Regions from separate parts of the Homo sapiens genome. Here regions 1, 2, 3 and 5 are each linked to region 4. Evidence: promoter capture Hi-C in 16 types of primary human blood cells and fetal thymus (Javierre and others, 2016). All regions are on one chromosome and are shown on one strand. Each heading gives the region's core, a stretch centred on a gene start or on the middle of the fragment in contact. The rest is flanking DNA. Distances are from core to core; before and after follow the strand shown.

Region 1 (2,700 bases), core at 171-2,670, 2.1 Mb before region 4:
GAGTGTCTGTGAACCAGGTCCGTTCTGTCCACTGAGCTGTACTTACGTCTAGATGTATAAGAAGCATGGGGTCAGCTCTCTAGGTTTCCTTGGAGAAGCAGGAGGACTTCCTTATCAGAAGCCTGACTTCTGTTGCAGAGCGCATGCATTTTGACCACAGTGTTTCAGCTCTTCCCTTTTCTCTTGTTCCATTTAGGTGGCTTCCCACACTTCTGACTCGGACGTTCCTTCCGGTGTCACTGAGGTGGTCGTGAAGCTCTTTGACTCTGATCCCATCACTGTGACGGTCCCTGTAGAAGTCTCCAGGAAGAACCCTAAATTTATGGAGACCGTGGCGGAGAAAGCGCTGCAGGAATACCGCAAAAAGCACCGGTAAGCAGGCGGGCCTTTCCTGCGGGCCTGCAGGGCCCAGTGAGTCTCTGGGAGCCACAAAAAAACAAACAAAGTGCAGACTCTATAGCCTGGTGGGAACGACTCCGCCCGGAGCCAGAGCCCAAGAACAAAGCCAGGAAGTTACGGGGGAATTTTATTTTTCCTTTGGAGGATGTTTTACTTTGGAGGATAACTGTTTTTTATTTCAGGGAGGAGTGAGATGTGGATGTTGCTTTTGCACCTACGGGGGCATCTGAGTCCAGCTCCCCCCAAGATGAGCTGCAGCCCCCCAGAGAGAGCTCTGCACGTCACCAAGTAACCAGGCCCCAGCCTCCAGGCCCCCAACTCCGCCCAGCCTCTCCCCGCTCTGGATCCTGCACTCTAACACTCGACTCTGCTGCTCATGGGAAGAACAGAATTGCTCCTGCATGCAACTAATTCAATAAAACTGTCTTGTGAGCTGATCGCTTGGAGGGTCCTCTTTTTATGTTGAGTTGCTGCTTCCCGGCATGCCTTCATTTTGCTATGGGGGGCAGGCAGGGGGGATGGAAAATAAGTAGAAACAAAAAAGCAGTGGCTAAGATGGTATAGGGACTGTCATACCAGTGAAGAATAAAAGGGTGAAGAATAAAAGGGATATGATGACAAGGTTGATCCACTTCAAGAATTGCTTGCTTTCAGGAAGAGAGATGTGTTTCAACAAGCCAACTAAAATATATTGCTGCAAATGGAAGCTTTTCTGTTCTATTATAAAACTGTCGATGTATTCTGACCAAGGTGCGACAATCTCCTAAAGGAATACACTGAAAGTTAAGGAGAAGAATCAGTAAGTGTAAGGTGTACTTGGTATTATAATGCATAATTGATGTTTTCGTTATGAAAACATTTGGTGCCCAGAAGTCCAAATTATCAGTTTTATTTGTAAGAGCTATTGCTTTTGCAGCGGTTTTATTTGTAAAAGCTGTTGATTTCGAGTTGTAAGAGCTCAGCATCCCAGGGGCATCTTCTTGACTGTGGCATTTCCTGTCCACCGCCGGTTTATATGATCTTCATACCTTTCCCTGGACCACAGGCGTTTCTCGGCTTTTAGTCTGAACCATAGCTGGGCTGCAGTACCCTACGCTGCCAGCAGGTGGCCATGACTACCCGTGGTACCAATCTCAGTCTTAAAGCTCAGGCTTTTCGTTCATTAACATTCTCTGATAGAATTCTGGTCATCAGATGTACTGCAATGGAACAAAACTCATCTGGCTGCATCCCAGGTGTGTAGCAAAGTCCACATGTAAATTTATAGCTTAGAATATTCTTAAGTCACTGTCCCTTGTCTCTCTTTGAAGTTATAAACAACAAACTTAAAGCTTAGCTTATGTCCAAGGTAAGTATTTTAGCATGGCTGTCAAGGAAATTCAGAGTAAAGTCAGTGTGATTCACTTAATGATATACATTAATTAGAATTATGGGGTCAGAGGTATTTGCTTAAGTGATCATAATTGTAAAGTATATGTCACATTGTCACATTAATGTCACACTGTTTCAAAAGTTACTTTTTCTTTTCCACTGTTATGTTGCTAGACTCTGGAACTCACTATATTCAGTGGGTTTTTTGGTTGCTGCTTCCCCCCCCCCCCGCCCCCCGAGACAGAGTCTCACTCTGTTGCCCAGGCTGGAGTGCAGTGGTGCAATCTCGGGTCACTACAACCTCCACCTCCAAGGTTCAAGCAGTTCTCCTGCCTCAGCCTCCTGAGTAGCTGGGACTACAGGCACGTACCACCACACCTGGCTAATTTTTGTATTTTTAGTAGAGACAGGGTTTCACCATGTTGGCCAGGCTGGTCTCGAACTCCTGGCCTCAAGCGATCCGCCTGCCTCAGCCTCCCAAAGTGCTGGGATTATAGGCGTGAGCCACCGTGCCAGGCCTTTATATCCAGTGTTTTGGATTTTTTTTTTACACTCTTAAATACTAGCACCCTGAAAGACAGATCCTAAAGCTGGCTCTAAAGCTTCCTGAGACCCCTTCTCTGCACCTCCTTACCCCTCTGCACAGTGGCCTGGGGTTGGGGGTCCTTAGATGTCTCTCCATCCCTGACAGAGGTTCCAACATGAGGCACTGGGAAGACTGAGTCAGCACATGATGTCACCAAGGTGTGGGGATGAGATGAGGCTAATTCTGCCTGGGGGACTGCGGACCCTGAGCCCTTAGTGTCTGGCTTCTAGGACTCTTGTGGCAAAGGGGGAGCAGGGCTTGATGTGCTGAGAAGAGAGGGATTTGACATCTGTCTGGAAAGGGAGGCAGCACCAACCCTGCTGAGCCCCTCTGTTGACACTCAA
Region 2 (2,757 bases), core at 112-2,611, 2.6 Mb before region 4:
CTGTTCAACGCACAGTCCTACTCTCCTGAACTGTTAACACCCTTCAGTCTGGCGTACTCGCTATTTCCTGCGTGCACCACGCCCTTCCTGTCATTTCTACCTCTGTGCCTTAGCCCCTGTGTCCTTGCTCCCATGACACTTAGAGCCTGCTCTTCTTGGCTTATGGGTCAAGCAAGCTGTGTGCTTTCTACTGGGCCTTCCCCAGCCCCTTTTGCTGCAGGGACATCGCTGTTGTCTGGACTTCCACAGTGCTCATAATCACCATATACAGAACTACTTTGCACCATTAACTACCTTTCAAAAGTACCTTTCATAAGCATCAATTATATTGAAAGCTACCAGCTTAAGATGGCCAACATTTATCCTGTTATGATTGTCACCAAGCCTAAATCTATATTTTTAAAGAGGTCAAAACATCATCTACTCCTTTAATCACAATTATATTTTTTTCTCTCTCTGCTCTCCTTGCATTCAGCACAGGTCTCCACTCCAGCACATATCCTAATACAGGGACTTCATTAGTTCAGAATCCCCAACCTCTACCTCACTACACGGGCGTCACATGGAGCAGGGACTTCTGCCAGAACAGATACCCAGTGTGTCGATACCTCATGAGTCGAATCACTCACCCCACTAGCAGTTCTGATGGGTTTCGCCTTTAACTTGGGCATCAAGACCTTGCGATACTGAGGAGGGACGGCAGCAATGATATCCACCAGGCGGGGCTGGGCAGAAAGGCCATATTTGGCAGCTGTCTTGGTTTTCACCCTGAAAGTAAAGCATCTCACATTATCAAGATTACGGTTATTTAAGGACAAGCTACCAAGAGGATGATCTATAAACAACATCATTAACAACTGTCACTCTCCAATCCCTTCACCACGTGACAAGGATAGTTTTAAGATCTGTGACTATCAGGGAAATAGAAGAATAAAATTCACGAGTGAATGACTACTTCCCACCCTTGAGTACCAGAAAGAAAACCAGAGGACTATGGAGGGAGAAGGGTCCCTGGACGATGACACAATATAGATCTAGTTCAGAATAGTGCTGCAGCTTCAAAGGACTATTCTGACTCCACCTTTCTCAACCTCAGCACTACTGATGTTTGGGACCACACAGTTCTTTGCTGTGGCAGGTGGCCAGCGAATTGAGGGATGTTTAGCAGCATCCTTGGTCTCTATGTACTACCAGCCTTCTTCTTGTCTTCCTGTTGTAACACTCAAAAATGTCCCTAGACATTGCCAAATGTCCTGAGGAGGAAATCACCCCTGGTTGACAACTACTGTCTTAGACAAAACAACAACAACAATTAAAAAAAAAATCAAGGATGGCTATGCAGAACCAAATAGGAAATAAAGTACATATTTTTGAAAGTTTAAAAAAAACTTTTACCAGCTTTTCTTTGTGCCTCCTAGCCAAACTCTTAACAGTCACCCTGTCTTCTAACTTTAATCCATCTAGAAATATCTGTGAAGTGCTCACATATTTGTCAACAAATATTAACTGAGGACCTAACACGTACAAGAGGCTGCCTGAATACCTGCTATGTTCAAATGTGCAAGGCACAGTCCTTTCATGTTCTATGTTTACATGTTTGCAGACAGGCGTACCAAGAAAATTAATGTATAAATGATTAAAACATATGTCATAAAACACACACACATACCAACAATGAATGCTTCCAGAGTTCAGGGAGGAATCTGATGTGTGCTGGGGAGATATTCATGGAAATGAGCACAGAAGAAAGAGTAGGTCTCAGTCACTAAAGACACAAAGATGACATGGAGGGCAGACAGGCTGATTTATGTGCAGATGCAAAAACAGGAATGCATATATTTTAAGAAATACAAGCAGACCAACTTGACAGAAAGCAGAAGATTTTCAATGTAAAGGTACAGAGGTTTAAAAACTTGGAAAAGCAGGTTGAAGCCAGACTGAGAGACCTTCCAGTAATAGGCTGGTGACATCTGAGGAGGGGCGAGTTTTAAGGACGATGGCAGCTTTAGCTTTAGATGTGCTAAATTAAAGAGAACAACAAATATATATAAGATGTAGAAATGTTCACTAGAAATTAAAGATTTGTATAATCAGGGGTATAACCAACAAAAAAAGAAAGAAAAACTTCTAAAGACACGGTAGAAAAATCAGTAAAATACAATAACTTTATAGTCAAAAGAGGATATTTACTTATTCCTGTAGCAAATATTTACTAAGCATGAGGATTCAAGGAAGGGGTAAAATATTGCAGCATCTCAAGTATCAGAGAAGAGAGTCTAAGAAAAGGTCATTCCTGTATGTGATGATTAGACGACCTGGGGTTGGGGAGAGAACCCTTTCATTAGGGAAGATCTACATAGAGTGAATATATATTATAGTTTGAAAAAAAAAATAGATGCAGAGATGAAAGACAACTCTTATTTGAGACTGTAGGAAAGTCCAAGCTGAAAATGATTATGGAGAGGAAGTGGATGAATGTGTCAAAGAGGTTCTACAGCAGGGGAGGGTTGGATTAGATCAGGGGCCCCAAAGGGAGGGTTTTCCTGACAGAAAGCTGCTGCTTCAGCTGAGACAGTAGGGAAGGAAAGTAGGATGTGCAGCGATGCAGCACAGAAGAACATGGGCTCTGGAGACGGCTGACCTAATTCCAAATCCCAGCTCTGCCAATTACTAGTTACTTACCCCTGGACAAATTATTTAACTGCTCTCTGACTCAGATTACCCACCTGTCAAGTGTGGCTGGTATCAGTACCTATC
Region 3 (2,700 bases), core at 34-2,533, 2.3 Mb before region 4:
TGTTTTAAATTTTCTGTAATTTTATAATCAAGTTAATTTTTCTTAAAGAAGTAAAATATTTCTTTAAAGTTTCAGCCAGTTCTTTTTAATGTTTAAGTATTATTAGGTGAATTGATTATCTGAAACATCTGAACTATTGGTTGCTTTGTTTTGTCAGTGTTAGTTTTATTATCTTCATATAGAAATAATATCTGAGCTTTAGATTAGAAGTATTATATAAATTTATAAAAATTATAAAGTTCATATTGTTCAATTATGAAAATTATTATTTTTTCTGTATTTTCAAGCATCAAGGCCTCCGAATTACTCTTCTTCATTGAGGGAGAGAGAAATTTGTGGGAGGAGCTGACATTTCTCCCATTCTTATAAACCCTGGCATATCTTCATTTGACAGTTTTTGTTTCTTTCGTTTCTCATATCTCATTGCAGATGAAGATCTGATCAAGCATGGCTGGCCTGAAGATATCTGGTAAGTAACAATTTTGGTTCTGCCCTCTGTAGATCATCATTTCCTTTCTTAGACTTGGCCAAGCATTCAAACTAGAATCATGCTTTGTACTGTGGTTTATGGGTCTTCAGGGTTAAACAGCTGACTGCCAGTTCCTTCATTTCTAATTACCTTGCAAGTTGGAAATGATGTTTTTGGGTTTGATCTCAGGCTTGAGAGCAAAGGCCTCTAGGACACAGGCCTTCTTTTTCCTCCTTTTTGTCTCCACGCCATAGTAAGTTACTGAGACCACACCTCACTTAAATATTCAGACCACTGTTCTTGAGTGGAAAAATGAAGACTTCACATGAAGCAATGAAGAAAATAGATACAAGCATCCATGCGGATGGAATAGACGGAGGTTCTTACTGGTCCAGCTTTAAAGGAAGCACACTTGTTCCCCTTTGTCTTCTAAACTCCCTGATGAGTTTAGCTCTGTCTTGATCCAACCCCGACGCCTTCTTTCTAAAACAATTTATGTGAACTGTTTTAAATAATAACATATACTTTCTTAGTCTCCTTTTGAGATCATTTATTTTGCTCACAAAACCCAGTCCAAAAAAAAAGAATACCAAACAAACAAAAAGACTTCATTTAAGCTGAATTCTTTTCTCTGTCTTAGAACACCATATAGACTTCTACCATTCAGACCTGGGGCCTTTTATGAATACATGGGCTTCTGTCCTATAACACTGTCACACCCAGTCTACTTTCGTTTTCTTCATCTTCAGCTTCCACCACTGACTCTGACCCTAGTATTGCCTCTCTTCTAGAGCACAGTCCTGCCTATGGAGTGGGATATCATCTTCCTGACTCCTCATACCTCCTACCAAATGCTATCCCTGAAGATAAAGGCACCTGGGTCCCGTTTGCTTTATTATGATAGTGAATATCTGTCAAGCACTTAACTATATGCCAAATACTACTAAGTGTTTACCTCCATTAATACATTTAACTTCACAACAACCCTGTGAAATAGATATTAATATTTATGCCCATTTTTTCAGATGAGGAAATTAAGGTTAAGAGAAACTGACTGGGTCTGCTCTGTCTGCTACTGGCTCTGGCTCTGGTTCTAAGTCACTGCTTCTGTCTTCTCCAGGCTGCTGCTCTTTTGGCTTCAGCTCCTTTCTTCTCCCAGGCTGTTGCTGCAGCTCTCTCTGGACCTCTTTTCTCCAAATGTGGACACAGACCCTTCACTTATTTCCCTCTAGTGATAGAGTTGGGCTACTGCTTTTTAGAAGAGTTGATTTAATTTTCTTTTTTTTTTTGAGACGGAGTTTCGCCCTTGTTGCCGAGGCTGGAGTGCAATGGTGCGATCTCGGCTCACTGTAACCTCTGCCTCCCTAGTTCAAGAGATTCTCCTGCCTCAGCCTCCCGAGTAGCTGGGACTACAGGCACCCATCATCATGCCTGGCTAATTTTTTGTATTTTTAGTAGAGACTGGGGCTATCACCACATTGGCCAGGCTGGTCTCGAACTCCTAACCTCAGGTGATCTACCCGCGTTGGACTCCCAAAGTGCTGGGATTAGAGGCGTGAGCCACCGCGCCCAGCCAGAACAAAGGAATTTTAAAGGCTTATTTAAATCTGGTCCCTATTCCAGCACAAAAACCTGTCTTCTAAATCCAAATATGTCATCAAGTTAAACCCTGCTTGGTGCTCTTTTGCCTCAAGTGGGCAGTGTGCAATGCTGAAAACATCCAGACTGGGGCTGCCCGCCTTCCTAGGGCCTGAGACAGTAAGCTGTATGAGGACAATGATCACCTATTTCATTAACTACTATGTCCCCAGTACCTAGCATAGGTCCTGGCACATAGTAGGTATTCAGTAAATATTGGTTGATTTCCTAATTGACTCCCTGCCAGCGTAGAAGCAGTCTCCATGGACATTTCCCTACAATGGCCACATCATGGTTATCTCCATTTTGAGCTCCTGCCAACCCCAGCTGGATGATTTTCAGTTGTTTTTAAAGATCTCCAGACTCTCATGGGAATAAGAATGGCTGCACCTGTTAGGCAGTTAGCTGATGGAAATTTTTAACCTATCAGGTTTGAGGCATAAAAACCTGCATAGAGAAGGTTACATAATCAGATGCAGCCTGAAAATCAGTGTACCACAGCCTTCTACCTGACTTTCATTTGTTTAAATAAATGGAAGAGAAATTTCCAGTTTACAACCCACATCCAATAAATTATGACCTCAGTTTTTCAT
Region 4 (2,700 bases), core at 91-2,590:
TTTTAAAGCCAAATTAAACAGAAAGAAATGGAGAAAACTGCTGTTCAGGCACCAAAGCAGACCCCAAAGGATAAGCCATGGCTTTTCAACCGTAGCGAAAACCTGAATCATAAGGGTACCCCTCTCAAGACGCAGCTCTATCCATTTCCAGAAATTCTCTCAACAGGTCCGGATGCACTCCTGGTCACCCAGAGCAGCTCCTGACAGGAGTACTAATTCTGTGCTGCAGGGTAAGCCGAACAAAGTGCCTAGAAATGCCCCGGAGAAACAGCCCCGTGGCAGCGCGGATGCAATCCTACCTCTCACGCCGCACCTGAAGGCCCGCCAGGCAGACAGGCTTACTCCCAGAGCCCCGTGGCAGGCGAGCGTCGCGTCGGCCGCTCCTTCCAGACCCCGGCTCCTCTGTCCGGAAGGGCTCTCCTGGCAAAGCACCCGCAGCCGGGAGCCGCTCTTCGAACCCGGAGCCCGAGGTCCCGACGGCTGACCTGGACTCACAGCCTGCGCTGATCCTGGCCTGCGCTCTGCCCGGCAGCCTCCTCCACCCGCCTCCTCCGCCCGCCGACCGATTCAAATCCCCGACCCCGCCCCTCGGTACCGAATTTACTCTACGAATCACTCCGCCACCTCCCCCTTCTCCAGTCCGCGCACACTCCGAGCGCTCCCAGGCCTCTCCCTCGGCACTGGAGTGGCTTCCTGGGCTCGGAGAGGGACCACCGCGAGCTGCAGTCAACCCGAGGACTACAGACACCTGCCACTGCCTTGTGACCTCGGGGACTACTTTTCAGGAGAGTCTCGCGGAGTAACGCTTCTCTTAGCGCTTTAACTCCGCCTCCCACCTTTCTATTGGATGCTGCAAACTTCGAAAAGACTCATTCAACCAATCCTAACAGAGCGACGAGCTGGCTCTTACCCAATCAGTCCGTCCCTACCGCAGCCGTTTCCTAGCTGGGCCGGCTTGTGGGCGGGGCTAACGCTGGAGGAGGGGCTGACTGGTGCTTGGGTCCCTTTCAGCGCTCCACCTCCTTTCCCCAGACCCCGCCCTCGTATGCAGATAAGCGCTACCTAAACTAGAGGGTGCGCCTGCTCAGTAACGCTGGAAGCCGCCGTCCGGCTCCAGGAGCCTCTCTGATTGGCTGATGCCCCTTCCCGTCTACTAGCCTTCAGCGTCTCTTCCCTCCCTCCGTCCCGGCTAGGTTAGCCAGAGCCCGCCCGATACTGGGTGCTGATTGGCTGGACTCTGTCCGGTGACGCGGGTTGGTTGGTACGGCAGAGTGTCAGTCTCGGAGAGGTGGGGGAAGGGCCCCAGGCAGGCTGAGGAGCCTAGGGGCGGGGTGGGAAGGAGGACCGGCCGAACCTTGGGTGTGGGACAGAGTGCGTGCGTGTGGTGTGTCCCCAAGGGCAGGAAGGTGGCGAAGGGAGGCGAATCCGAGTGGGTGGAGGGAGGGGAAGGGCGGGAGGAGAAAAAGGTGGGAGGAGGACCAGGTGGGAGGGTGGCGGCTCACTCAGGACCCAGCGGGGGCAGCGCGATGAGGCGGGTGACCCTGTTCCTGAACGGCAGCCCCAAGAACGGAAAGGTAACGGGGGCGTGAGGGGGCGCGGCGGGCCGGGGGTCGGGGCGAGGGCGGACGGTGCGGAACCGGCTGGCGGGGCAGCGGTGAAGTTGGGTAGAGGGGCTGGGAGGTGGGCGTGCGCGGGCTGGGGGCGCTCGGGGACAGCACAGGGTCCCCGCGGCCTCCTCCCGACCCTCAGGACCCCCGTGCCCGAGCCTGCCCTTCAGTGCCTCAGCTGCCTGGGGGCCGGCGCGGTTCGGCCCGGGGGCTCCGGGTCTCCCGGATGCTTGGTGCGGGGGGCGCGGGGACGGGGGCGCGGGGAGGGCCGCGGTCACCTGGGCGCCCGGGCGGTCGCGCCTCTTCCCGCCTCTCCCCGAGACCCCGCTCCCGCCTGCGGGAGGAGGCGCGCCGGCTCCGGTGCTGAGTAATGATCTGCTCGGAAAGTGGCGGCGAGCACCAGAGCCTGTGGAGATGGGTCAGGGAGACAGAAGTAAACTGCCCGTGGATAAACAAAATCTCCCATCCGAGGTCGCAGACAGGATTTTTAAAATGGGGGCATTTTCTTGTTGATTTTTGCCCTCCTCTCTGAGATGCCTCAAGCCCCCACGCCCCGCCGCCGCCAAACTTCTCTGTACTCTTTTTATTATTTTGCCTTATTTTGATTCCCTAGAGGACGGGTACAGCAGACCCAAAAGGGATCGATTTGACAGTCGCCTTTGCTGTGTTAGGCCTTTGCGGAGAGTGTGGTGCTCAGTGTTCTTCCAGCGCTGGAGCAAGCCAAAACGAATTCTCTTCCTTCCCAGCCTTTTGCCCCACCCATGAAAGTTGTTCTGCTCCTTTGGGAAATTTTCACTGTTCGAGGCAGACATTTATTGCGTTGCTAAATGATACCTAGAAGTAACTCAGCCTTTACGAGTCTAAGGTAAAGGTAAATGGGTCTCGCTGTGTTGGTTGCCAAAATACTCTGCTGCCTGCACATTCGGGGAACACTGTAAATTTTTAAATAGTGAAATTGTCCAGTGGCATTAAAAATGGCTTTCCGATTATTCAGTGTAGAGTAAACATGCTCCGAAAATTCGAACCAGAGTGTGGTTTGTTGGCTATAATTTTATGTTCTTTTGGTCTTAGAGATTTAATACTCATTTAAAAT
Region 5 (2,700 bases), core at 187-2,686, 2.3 Mb before region 4:
TTGCCAGGGGGCTGAGGGGAAGGAGAGTAACAATAAAATGTAGGCATAGGGAAATTTTAGGGTGAAGGAACTGTTCTGTATGGTACTGTAATGGCTAATACGTAATTCTATACATTTGATAAAACCCACAGAACTGTAAAAATCACAAAGAATGAACTCCAATGTACATCAAATGAGAAAAAAAAATACATATAAATATCAACCAGGCTACTGAGGTAGCCTAAGATGGAATGCAGACTGTGAGAAATGAATCTAACTATATTAGAACTGTATAGCATAACGACACTGAAGGAGGTAGGGGGAAAAAGAGAAGCTGTCCTAAGTAACTTTAGCAAATGGTGTTTTGACTAGAAGTTATAAGGATAAAGACAAAAAGATTGCACTTAAAATTGCACTCTAGGCCGAGTGCAGTGGCTCACGCCTGTCATCCTAAAAAATATATTATTTAATATATATATATTATTTAACTATATATGGAATTCTACAAAGGGAAAAAATTGAAAATATATCACATTTAGAGAAGAATGGCATGAGCTGATATAGGATTCCACAAAAGCTTACTTCAGCAATAATTACATATAGAAAAAGAGACTGAATTAGATAAGATTCATCTCAACCTCAACATGAACTATGAGATGAAAGGTAAGGGAGGCCAAGGCGGGTGGATCATCTGAGGTCAGGAGTTTGAGACCACCCTGCCCAACGTGGCGAAACCCCGTCTCTACTAAAAATACAAAAAAATTAGCCGGGCATGGTGGCAGACACCTGTAATGCCAGCTACTTGGGAGGCTGAGGTAAGAGAATCGCTAGAACCCTGGGGGCAGAGGTTGCAGTGAGCTGAGATTACGCCATTGCACTCCAGCCTGGGTGAGAGTGAGCCTCTGTCTCAAAGAGAAAAAAATTGCACTCTAATTGGTTATTTCTCACAGGGGTATGAATTAACAATTATGAAACTGTTTTACATGTTTACTGGGACAGAACAAATAAGTAGATGGATAGTGAATAGTAGGAACTAAGTGTCTCACTGTCCGAGAAGGAAGTTACAGATGAAAAAAGGATAGAATAAATCCTGGAGTACTGGATTAGAGTTGGAAATATCAACGTCCAGCTGGCAATATGCAAACAAAGAAATAAGACAGAAAATGTCACAGATAAGACTAAAGACACATGACAATTAAACGTAATATAGTACCTTGGAATGGATACTGGGACAGAAAGAAAACATTAATAGAAGATTCCAAATAAAGTTTAGAGTTTAGTTAACAGTAATATACCACTACCAATATTTGGTGAACTCCAAATAAAGTCTAGTGCTTAGGGCCAGGCACAAGGGCTTATGCCTGTAATCCCAGCACTCTGGGAGGCTGAAGTGGGGGGATCACTTGAGGTCAGGAGTTTGAGACCAGCATGGCCAACATGGTGAAACCCCATCTTAACAAAAATTAGCCGGGCATGGTGGTGGATGCCTGTAATCCCAGCTACTTGGGAGGCTGAGGCGGGAGAAATGCTTGAACCCTGGAGGTGGAGGCTGCAGTGAGCCAAGATGGTGCCACTGCACTCCAGCCTGAGCAACACAGTGAAACTCCATCTCAAAAAAAAAAAAAAAAAGTCTATACCAATACAAGTTTCTTAGTTTTGACAAAAGTATTATAACATAAGATGTTAAGAATGGAGGAAACAGGGTAAGAGATACACTGCTACTCTCTGTACTTTAACTTTTCTGTAAATCTAAAATTATGGCAAAATAAAGTCTATTAAAAGAAAAGAGCAAAGTTAAAACAGCAATTGATTTGAGGAAAATAGTAAGCTGAGAGTGGGCTAAAAAAACAAACTTTAACTTTGCATTGAAAAATAATTAGAGCTCATCCTCTAGAAACAAGGCCAAGGCAGGTGAAAGTCTGAGCTGCTATTGGTAAGTTACTTAACCCAAGTCCATTTCCTCATCTATAAATGGGCATATCAGGACCTAGAGTAGTAGGGAGAATTAAATGATAAACTGTAGTTATTAAGTAATAAAGTTTTGGTCTTTTTATATTACTTTTATGATTTCTCCCATATCCTTATACCATTTGTATTATTTTTATTCACTATTTTTCTTTAAATTGACTTAGACAATGTACTAAAATATATTTTAAAAGAAAAATTTATAACTATTTTAAGTAGATGCCTTTTTGTTATATTTTCTATTGTATCAGTGCTTTGAGCACAATCTATGAAAAACATAACGTATACTAAATATTTAGCACTGCCTTATATTCAGCACTCAGTAAATACTAGTTATTAACATCATATCTCAGAATCATAAAAAAAAGCTTTATGTATTCATAGTTTAGTAAGCTATTTAATTGAACACTGACAGCATAAATTAGGAATAGGATTTCAGAATTGACAGGAATTTAAAAATTAACTTTAACTCTTTAGAGATATCTTCCTAGATCATACAGCTAATTATTAGTAAACCTAGACAAAAATCCATGGTTCTTGATGCTTAATTTCAGTGTCACTTATAAAACTTAGTAAGTTCTGCTCACAATTGGGCTTTGATCACAAATATACATAATAGTTTTAACTTCTATTATTTTGGGTGAAAGATAGAGTAGGTATGATTTTATAATGAGAACACTCAACTCTAGAGAGCTTAAGTAACTTGGCCACAGCCATAGACCAATTAAGCCTAATATTTTGTCTAAAATTTTAACC

Evidence for each region. Contacts are between HindIII fragments. The CHiCAGO score rates a contact against its expected background, and 5 or more counts as called.
Region 1: a fragment that was not itself captured here is called in contact with the fragment with the promoter of KCTD9 in region 4 in 1 of 17 cell types (fetal thymus); the score reaches 6.1 in fetal thymus.
Region 2: a fragment that was not itself captured here is called in contact with the fragment with the promoter of KCTD9 in region 4 in 1 of 17 cell types (neutrophils); the score reaches 7.5 in neutrophils.
Region 3: a contact is called between a fragment that was not itself captured here and the fragment with the promoter of KCTD9 in region 4, in 2 of 17 cell types (non-activated CD4 T cells and total CD4 T cells). The highest score is 8.1, in non-activated CD4 T cells.
Region 5: a contact is called between a fragment that was not itself captured here and the fragment with the promoter of KCTD9 in region 4, in 1 of 17 cell types (naive CD4 T cells). The highest score is 5.5, in naive CD4 T cells.

Annotation. Positions count from the first base shown.
Region 1 is chr8:27,596,132-27,598,831 of GRCh38, reverse strand. CLU (clusterin) reads left to right here. Exons shown (of 9, transcript NM_001831.4): 8 at 197-372; 9 at 582-1,915. The coding sequence ends at 591. It overlaps LOC124901919 (a long non-coding RNA gene), which reads right to left. Exons shown (of 2, transcript XR_007060868.1): 2 at 1,273-1,765. Among named protein-coding and RNA genes, the nearest start is that of MIR6843, 13 kb to the left of the region's middle. The HindIII fragment of the contact is 624 bases long and covers 1,109-1,732 here.
Region 2 is chr8:28,097,839-28,100,595 of GRCh38, reverse strand. ELP3 (elongator acetyltransferase complex subunit 3) reads right to left here. Exons shown (of 15, transcript NM_018091.6): 3 at 630-768. Among named protein-coding and RNA genes, the nearest start is that of ELP3, 6.1 kb to the right of the region's middle. The HindIII fragment of the contact is 3,785 bases long and covers 1-2,757 here.
Region 3 is chr8:27,760,188-27,762,887 of GRCh38, reverse strand. CCDC25 (coiled-coil domain containing 25) reads left to right here. Exons shown (of 9, transcript NM_018246.3): 3 at 430-469. Among named protein-coding and RNA genes, the nearest start is that of CCDC25, 11 kb to the left of the region's middle. The HindIII fragment of the contact is 4,892 bases long and covers 1-2,700 here.
Region 4 is chr8:25,457,073-25,459,772 of GRCh38, reverse strand. It overlaps KCTD9 (potassium channel tetramerization domain containing 9), which reads left to right and starts at 1,340. Exons shown (of 12, transcript NM_017634.4): 1 at 1,340-1,574. The coding sequence starts at 1,527. It overlaps CDCA2 (cell division cycle associated 2), which reads right to left and starts at 540. Exons shown (of 15, transcript NM_152562.4): 1 at 300-540. RefSeq lists enhancers at 642-871, 2,242-2,291 and silencers at 1,012-1,221, 1,582-1,631. The HindIII fragment of the contact is 4,823 bases long and covers 1-2,700 here.
Region 5 is chr8:27,780,470-27,783,169 of GRCh38, reverse strand. The region is part of intron 4 of ESCO2 (establishment of sister chromatid cohesion N-acetyltransferase 2); the gene reads right to left. Among named protein-coding and RNA genes, the nearest start is that of ESCO2, 7.3 kb to the right of the region's middle. The HindIII fragment of the contact is 1,756 bases long and covers 559-2,314 here.